Regions from separate parts of the Homo sapiens genome. Here regions 1 and 3 are each linked to region 2. The links are contacts of gene promoters, found by promoter capture Hi-C in blood cells and fetal thymus (Javierre and others, 2016). All regions are on one chromosome and are shown on one strand. Each heading gives the region's core, a stretch centred on a gene start or on the middle of the fragment in contact. The rest is flanking DNA. Distances are from core to core; before and after follow the strand shown. Region 1 overlaps EDEM1 (ER degradation enhancing alpha-mannosidase like protein 1). Region 2 holds the start of NKIRAS1 (NFKB inhibitor interacting Ras like 1). Region 3 holds the start of SETMAR (SET and mariner transposase domain methyltransferase).

The links. Contacts are between HindIII fragments. The CHiCAGO score rates a contact against its expected background, and 5 or more counts as called.
Region 1: a fragment that was not itself captured here is called in contact with the fragment with the promoter of NKIRAS1 in region 2 in 1 of 17 cell types (non-activated CD4 T cells); the score reaches 5.7 in non-activated CD4 T cells.
Region 3: the fragment with the promoter of SETMAR here is called in contact with the fragment with the promoter of NKIRAS1 in region 2 in 1 of 17 cell types (activated CD4 T cells); the score reaches 6.2 in activated CD4 T cells.

What each region holds. Positions count from the first base shown.
Region 1 is chr3:5,192,655-5,195,459 of GRCh38, reverse strand. EDEM1 (ER degradation enhancing alpha-mannosidase like protein 1) reads right to left here. Exons shown (of 12, transcript NM_014674.3): 2 at 179-251. Among named protein-coding and RNA genes, the nearest start is that of EDEM1, 6.4 kb to the right of the region's middle. RefSeq lists enhancers at 371-440, 841-910. The HindIII fragment of the contact is 195 bases long and covers 1,171-1,365 here.
Region 2 is chr3:23,915,457-23,918,339 of GRCh38, reverse strand. It overlaps NKIRAS1 (NFKB inhibitor interacting Ras like 1), which reads left to right and starts at 1,350. Exons shown (of 5, transcript NM_020345.4): 1 at 1,350-1,556. RPL15 (ribosomal protein L15) reads right to left here and starts at 1,208. Exons shown (of 4, transcript NM_002948.5): 1 at 1,167-1,208; 2 at 309-490. The coding sequence starts at 480. RefSeq lists enhancers at 467-566, 496-1,695, 947-1,746. The HindIII fragment of the contact is 19,179 bases long and covers 1-2,883 here.
Region 3 is chr3:4,302,046-4,304,787 of GRCh38, reverse strand. It overlaps SETMAR (SET and mariner transposase domain methyltransferase), which reads right to left and starts at 1,419. Exons shown (of 3, transcript NM_006515.4): 1 at 1,262-1,419. The coding sequence starts at 1,417. It also overlaps a transcript of SUMF1 not described here. RefSeq lists enhancers at 982-1,051, 1,080-1,822 and a silencer at 1,142-1,481. The HindIII fragment of the contact is 4,274 bases long and covers 1-2,634 here.

The DNA.
Region 1 (2,805 bases), core at 19-2,518, about 19 Mb after region 2:
ACCTTCAACACTTTTCTTGTTCTCCCCATTAAGGTCATTAAAATAAATAACAGTTATCAAAGCTAATGATACATTTTGACTTATCAGGCTCCCTGGAATTCCCACTGCTGGAGGGAACTAGGGATAATCAACTCTAAAACATCTTAATTCATTTTTTTAAAAAAAGGTGAACACTTACTGCAAGTGTATCCAATGCATCAACAAGAGTCAATGAGTAGTTCCCTAGTACATCATTGATGTTCAGATTTGAACTGAAAAAGAAAATTAAAATTCAACAAAAAGACTTTATTTCAAAAGAGAAGACAATAAAAGTAAACACCCATCAGAAACTATAATTGCCAGCAACTCTTATTTATTCAGGAACTAATTATGGGTGAATTAATACAGCAAAGGTCTTTCTACCCCCAAAGTAACACTTTCTATGGTGTCCATAAGTAGAATCAAGTCACAGAACTGTGGAGACACACTTGTACCAGAGTGGAAAGAATGCTCACAGGAAGTCAGGAGGCAGTGAGTCATCTCCTCTCTGAGATTCAGGTTTATCACCATAGACAATCTCCTTGGTCCTGTCCAACTTTAAAAAGCTCTGATTTCACAATCATTAGGAACTAAAGAAGAGCCCTTGTCATACGACCCACCTGTAATACTTTAATACAGAAATTAGACACCACAGCCTATATTACACACAAAAAGAAGTAAATACATTAATTGACAGTGTCAATATTACTCATCTGCCCTATGGTTGGGGGTATAAATTAACTTCTTTACACCATTTCTTCATTAATAACTCATCCAAAGGGTCTTGATTATTTCCGTTAATTCTGAGATATCATTTAACATGAACCTAGGCAGGAATTGAGGCCTTTCTCACTTCTTGACTGGAGCTACATAAACGTTTCTGCCACACACCTCTCACCCCATAATCTACACCAATTTTCCATTCTGAAACAACCTTAAGAAACCAACTTCAGGATGACAAGGGTGAAGCTCCTCAGGCACTGTGGTATGTCTTTGTAACACTTTACAAAAAAGTCAACAACAAAAAAACTAATACATCTGGGAGAATAGGGATGAAGAACTAGTAAAATAAAGGACAGTTTGAGAAATTCTGGGGACTTCATTTATTTATTTGTCCCATTCCCAAAAATCCAGAAAATAAGTGCAGAAGCTTGGAAAAAATGATAGTAAGAGAAGACATAAGACAACTGTTTAAAGATTTTATTAGCAACCAAAGCAAAAAAGCTCCAGTTTTATTTCCAGCAAGATGCATTGATATCTGCAGTCTTCCATCATATCCCAAAGCACTTCATCTGCTCCTCGGATCACCCTAATGGGTCCTTATCTCACCTTCCAGTCAGAGAAGCTTCTGGTGCACAGCACCTCTCGTGTTGTGATGGCTTGCTGTGGTCTCTGAAAGGCCTGTGCCTCAGCTGGGGAAAATGGGGCTTATGTGAAAGAGGCATAACAGCTCCAATGTCTCATTTTATTTGAACCCTCCAGTTGCCTTGTTTTATGCTGTTACACCATCTAATCTAAAGCAAAGAATTTATAGTAAAATTTTAGGCTGGGTGCGGTGGCTCACGCCTGTAATCCCAGCACTTTGGGAGGCCGAGGTGGGTGGATCATCCAAGGTCAGGAGTTCAAGACCAGCCTGGCCAACATGGCAAGACCCTGTCTCTACTAAAAATACAAAAATTAGCTGGGCGTGGTGGCAGGCGCCTGTAATCCCAGCTACTAGGGAGGCTGAGGCAGAAGAATTACTTGAACTCAGGAGGCGGAGGTTGCGGTGAGCCGAGATCATGCCATTGCACTCCAGCCTGGGCAACAAGAGCGAAACTCTGTCTCAAAAAAAAAAAAAATTTTAGATACTGTTTTTTTGAAACGAGATATATATGGGGGCTATAGTCTAGGAACTAGGGCTAGCTCATTTCCTATAAGCTGGGAAGTCAGAAAACTGCTTGGCTGGAAAATTGTACCTGTTTTTTCTATTTGTTGATTTTCTGGAAATAAACTTATACAATAGCAAAAGGTCCCCTCAAAGCAAGAGCTATGGATTCAAATATGCCTCTCAAGCGCAAGTGACAGCCAAAAAAGGTACAAAAAGTGCAAGGGTTGCAGGAGGGGCTCAAAGGAGACAGGGAGATCCTTACGCCCAATTCTGCCAACTCAAGAATGTTCTGCTCTGTGTAAATATTTCACTCTGTTGCTCTGCCGCTTAGAAACAGAGTGGGCTTCAACAGCCCACCTCATCAGAAAACAGCTCCCTCATCATGTAGCATCCAAGCTAGATGGTAATCAGGAGAACCACATGTAACTCCCCTCTCCTGAGTCACACCCAGATCTGCGGCATGTGTCATTCTATCCACCTGCACAGGCCCATGGAAGGAAGGTACTCACTGTGAGCACTGAACTCCTTTCTATGTTTTATTGTGCTTTGCCTTGTAATCTATAACTAAAATAGACCCAGTTTTAAAATATTTTTTACAATGCCCAGTCACTAAAAATTAATGAGCTGCCACAGTAAAAAAAAAAAAAAAAATTACTTGCAGTAACTGTGGGGTTTCTTCTCTCCACTCTAGTCAGACAAATCCTCTCTAAGATCTGGGGTATTTACTCATTAGAACACTTTTAATTCTTTCTTACCAAATAATTGCTACATCCTCTTTCAAAAGGTGCCAAAATAAGGGGGAAGTGGGAGTGAGGATGAAGGAAGAAAAAAAAACACCATAAAACTCTACTGGCCTAACAGCATGAAATTATTATGACTCCATTTATGCCAGCCCACTATGCAGCTCAGACTCTGGA
Region 2 (2,883 bases), core at 101-2,600:
TAAGTTAATGCTATCTAATAGAAAAAAATAAAACACATCCCAGTCTTTTTCAATGCACCTTAGGCTACTCACACAGGGAGGCACACTGTTTATTTTGCTTTAGTCTGAACTCATTCAGATTTGTAACCTTTGACACACTTGCCACTTTAGACAACAGTGCATACAGTAACTGACCAGTGTTGCTAGCTTTTTTCTGCCAAAGCCCTATGCGAAGAAAGACACTGAGGCAGCAGTGTCTTCCTAACAGCTGGTTTCCAACTTTTCTCGAATATAATTTTATCCAAGCATCCACGCAGTCGATCACGTACCTTGCTTGGCCTTGTAGCCCAGTCGGCGCGCTTTATCAGGCCGGGTGGGGCGGGGAGCCCTGTGGAGAGCAGAGAGCTGGCGGTACTGCCAGCAGCGGACCCTCAGAAGAAAGCGCATGACATCAGACTGCTTCTTTCTCCATAGCTCCTGGATGTACTTGTATGCACCCATCTTGGCTTACCTGTGAAATCAAACTGTGTATTAAATATCATCCGCTTTAAGTACAATAAGACGACTGTATCCGTCCATCTTAGTTCCCCAACAAAAACAAGGAAACCGCCGGGAATGAAAATGGCTCTGCACCAACTGCCGGGGACAGCTAGCCCAACCCCCACCACTGCGCCCACGGAGCCGCGTTCAGTCACTTCCGCAACCCCAGCACAGAGCGGTGCTCGGCACGTTTTGGTGGGGCGAATTAACAGAACCAGAACTGAGCACCAAGGGGGCGGGTGGCTGCGGCAGGCGGCGTCCCCAAGGAGGACCTGAAAGGAGATGCCGCTGACATCACAGGACAAGGTACTGCTGCGGCCACCGAGGATTAACTCTCGAGGAAAATGCATCTACCCCACCCAACCAGCAGCCTCACTTTAGGCTGCCTTGTCCCGGGCGCCCCATTCGTCAGCCCCACGCCTCCTCCAGGATCCGGGCCCAGCTCGAATTCGCGCCGCCATCACATCTTCGCTCAACCCGCCCCGGGGGCCGCCTCTCCACCCCTTTGCTGTCCCGCATCCTGACCAAACTCTGGCCGCACAGGAGGGAGACCTATCTCCGAGGACGCAGGGTCCCCGGACCTGGATGGCTGAAGAGGAAGACGATCAAAGGCGGATGGAAGAGCAAAGATCCTCAACGCAGCCTACCTGATGGCTGCCGCCAGACGGAAAGGAAAGAGCTGTACTCCCACAATGCCTTTTGGGCTCCTCCCCCACCTCAGCCACCCTCTTTCCGGTGGAAAGCTGCGGCCTCCCAGAGCGTCATGGGACATGTAGTTCCGGCATCGCGCCTGGTGGCGGAGTTCTGCCGAGTGGGGCGCCGCGGCCGCTATTGTCCCGCCCCCTGCTCCGCAAGATTCGAGCCTGAGCGGCCTGGGCGTCTCGAGAGGTGAGAGAGTTGGCGGCGAGGTCTCGGCGGCTAAGCGAGCGTCGGCGACTGTCTCTCCGCGAGAGGAGGCAAGTTGGGGTCCAGGCTCCAAAGCCGGTGGCCGCGTACCGCGGTGGAGCCGCTGTCTTTGAGGTCTGAGGAGAGAACAGGTTTGTTTCACGCACCGCGGGCTCTCCCCCTGCGGAGTCTCTGCGTCTCCGCGTCTCCGCGCTGCGCTGTCCCTCTCTGGCCACCGCACGACGGGCGCAGAAATCTGGGCCCCAGAGCTGCGCTGAGAGATCCCCCGACGCTTCCCCAGCCTCCCAGGGAGGCCTTCGCGGAGTCGGGGCGTCGCGGGTCGGGGCGCTCGCTGTGTCCCTTCAGCTCCAGACTGCGTGAAGCTCCTCCAGCAGGCCCCAGCGCCCAGGGATTTTGTCCTAAAAAAGGGTCATGGAGTGGGTGGATTGCGGGCGGCCCGGCGCTTTTTCTGCATACGGATTTCGTCCCAAATTTGCTAACATGAGAACCACAGTTTTTCAGAAGAGCAGAATGTTTATTTGCCAAGACCTGTTTGGCAGGTGTGAATGTTTTAGAGAAGAAATGCCGAGAAAATGCTGGCATTTTGCGTTGCGGGTTTTTTTTTAAATTGAGAAATAGGTTACTGGCTTACTTTGTTTCTCCAGAATATTTTCACTTGGCTTTAATTTAAGTCATGTGGCTTTAATTTCCTTCCAGATTATGCGTTCAGATGTGGCAAAGGCTTAAGAGAATCATTATCTCTTAATCGTAGCGGTTTTGATTATCTTTTTTCCCACATCATATTTTTCTTTCTTTCTTTTTAAATCACAGCTTTACGTTTTTAAGAGTCTCTATCTGGTTCATTGATTGATTCAACAAATATTTATTAAGTGTCTAATATGTGCCAGGCATAGTTGCTGGGGATGCAGCAGGAAACAACGCAGAATTTTTGGCCTTCTTGGAAATGGGCAGTAAGCAGAAGTAAGCTGTGTTTTGGGTTTGGTGGTAAATGCTAAGGAAAAAAGATAAGGGGAGGGAAGTGATGAGGGAGTGTTAGCGGCTGAGGGTTGCAATTTGGAATGGAGTGTCCAGGTTAAGTCTTTGAGAGAAGGTAACATTTAAGAAAGGACTTCAAGGATAGGAGTCTGGGAGTAAGAGTAGGGGTCTGATTCAGGCAGAGGGAGAAGAGCCATGACTGGAGCATGCAAGATTAATAGAGGAACAGCAGGGAAGCAGTGTGGCTGAAATTCACAGTAGGGGAAAGTGGGAAATGACGTCGGAGAGGTGAAGGTTCTCACATGGACTTTGGATTTCATTGGCAGATTTTGAACAGAAGGATGACTTCATATGGCGTACATTTTAAAAAGATAACTCGGATTGCTCCTTTTGAGGCTAAAAGGAGAGAAAAAATGGAAGCAGAGAGACTGCTTAGGAAATTGTGTTAGTCTTCCATTGCTCCTGTAACAAATTTCAGCAACT
Region 3 (2,742 bases), core at 170-2,669, about 20 Mb after region 2:
AATCTCTTCAAATATTTTAGAGTTTGATTCTTTTCCTTGACATCTTTGAAAGCTGCTATTGAATCTCTTATCTTATCTGATCCTCACAAAAACCCCTAGGAAAAAGAAAGGGCAGATAGGGTTCATTGTTGATAATGGATGTTAAAGGGGCTATGCATTTTTAAATTATTATTTTCATTTTGCAGATGAAGAAACTCAGGCTCTGGGAAGTAGCTAAGATGTCTAAGCTCCGAACCATACTCTCCAACTTCCACGTCCAGCGCTCTTTCCACTTCAAAATCTTTGGTCATTCCTTATTCCTTGGGTAACGCTCAGGCCAAGGTCGGAGGGATAAGAAAGTCAGTAGAGGCTGGGAGCGTGGCTCATGCCTGTAATCCCAGCATTTTGGGAGGCCGAGGCGGGCGGATCACCTGAGGTTGGGAGTTCGAGACCAGCCTGACCAACATGGAGAAACCCTGTCTCTACTAAAAATACAAAAATTAGCCGGGCGTGGTGGCCCATGCCTGTAATCCCAGCTACTCGGGAGGCTGAGGCAGGAGAATCGCTTGAACCCGGGAGGTGGAGGTTGCGGTGGGCCGAGATCGCGCCAGTGCACTCCAGCCTGGGCGACAGAGCGAGACTCAGTCTCAAAAAGAAAAAGGAGAGTAGAAAGGGCTTTGAGGTAGTTAATAGAAGCAAACATTTACTGAGTTCTTACAGCAAACCGGAAAGTGTATTTTCCTTGCCATTTTCAAAGCACTCCGGAAGAGAGGTACTGTTCCACTGTACGCTGGAAGACTCTAAGGCTGAGCCACAGCTAATTTACACTCGCCCAAGAGCCCACAGCGTGAGGGAGACCACAGCTAAGGCTGACTCGAGGGGCTGTTTTTATGCACGACACCGGCTGCGATCCATTAATAGGCCCCACGGCTTATCCTACCTGTGAGAGACACCTGAGACCAGGGAGGTAAATGACTCCCCCCGTGATGCCTCCTTGAGTTCTGAGGACAGGACTGGACAAAAAGCCAGGTTCTCACAAGGCCTCCGGTTCTGCGCTTCAGGGAATGGACTGAAAAGGACAACACCCTTGCTAAGGTGATGCCGTGGGTCAACAGAAAAAGGCCCAGGCCGGGGCATGCACACCTATTCCCGCGCACCAACGGGTGCGCTGTAAGAGAAGACAAAAGGTCGCGACTGGGAGGCCGTCCCAGCGAGGCGGCTTGAGGAGACCACGTGGGGGAGCCGCGCGCCCGCCTCCCGCGCCGCCTGGCCCCGCCCCTACCTGGAAGGGCGCCGGCGCGGCCCCCGGGGGCCACGCGCCCACCGGCAAGTTTTCCTGGCCGCACGCGACATCCAGCTGCTCAGTCGGGGCCTCAGGCTTCTCCTTAAACTCCGCCATCCCACAAGGCCGTGTCGTCTTTGCCGCTTCCGCGAACATTTACCCGCCTCACGCAACGCCCACTACCCTGACAGTCCTGGGCCGCGCGGTGGATGCTGGGACTTGTGGTCCCGTGGCCCCACCGCCTCATGGGAATTGTAGTTCGTTTCTTCTCAGGAGTGGCCTGGAAGGCGCTTCCCTTCCTTGACTTTTTGGGTCTGGCTCCCGTTTTGATTTCAGCCAGAGGCACCACAGATAATTACAAAACCATGTAAGGTACGGACGAAACAAAGTGAGGTGCTTTAGTTTTTCCTGGGAGCATCAGAGAGGGGGCTTTCGAGGTGAGGTCATTTGTCCAGGTTTTTGAGGGCTCACTGCACGTTTGTGGAGTGGAGGCAGGGGTGCGTTCTAAACCGAGCGGGGAAACGCACACCAAGGTTTCTAAAGGTCTGCGGCTTGCCGGGAAGTTGACTGACATGTGATAGGGTTTGTGCCAAGGCGATAGCCTCACAGGGTGCCTTAAGGAATTTGTGTGGGGGCATGCTCACTCCCTGATGGAGGTATCCGTGCCCCTTTGCCTGTCCTTTTCCCTCCTCTCCATCCCTCTACCCTCACCCCTCCAAACCCCTGCCCTGCCAAAGGATTCTGATAGCCTCAAGACTGCTGAATCCGGTGGAGCATTTTCAACCTCACTGAAGCTCTCTGACATGATTGTCCTGCTTCTCCTTGAAACTGTAAACCAAAAATAAAATTCCAATCCTCCAAACCATCTGAAGGGACCCCTCCTCTCTGCCAAGGTTAACCTGAGAAAGTGGTTCAGGCCATGATGGGAAGGGGGGTCCAACATGCCTCATTATGCCCTTCTTCCTTTTGGAATTCAGGAAAAGCCAGCCAGCATCAACATCAACACACACCTTAAGTCTGATAAGAAACATTTACAATCTGTTCTCTGAAATTTACCTCTTGGAGGCTTCATCTCCACGATCAAATTTGGTATCCACAACCTCTTATTGCAACCCAGACATTCGTTTCTATTGATTTTAGGTCTTTAGATAATAACCAGTTGCCAATCAGAAAATCTTTAAATCTACCTATGACCTGGAAGCCACCCCTCACCCGCTTCTCGTTGTCTGCCTTTCCAGATCCAACCAATCTTACATGTATTGATTGATGTATTATGTCTCCCTAAAATGTGTGAGAGTAAGCTGTATCCCAACCACCTTGGGCACATGTCATCAGGACTGCCTGAGGCTATGTTGGGGGCGCATTCTTAAGCTTGGGAAAATAAACTTTCTAAATTGAGACCTGTCTCAGATAATTTTGGGTTCACAAACCCTTCTGACCTTGCAGCTTCTGAGGTCCCATTGGCCTAAATGTGTTTCCAT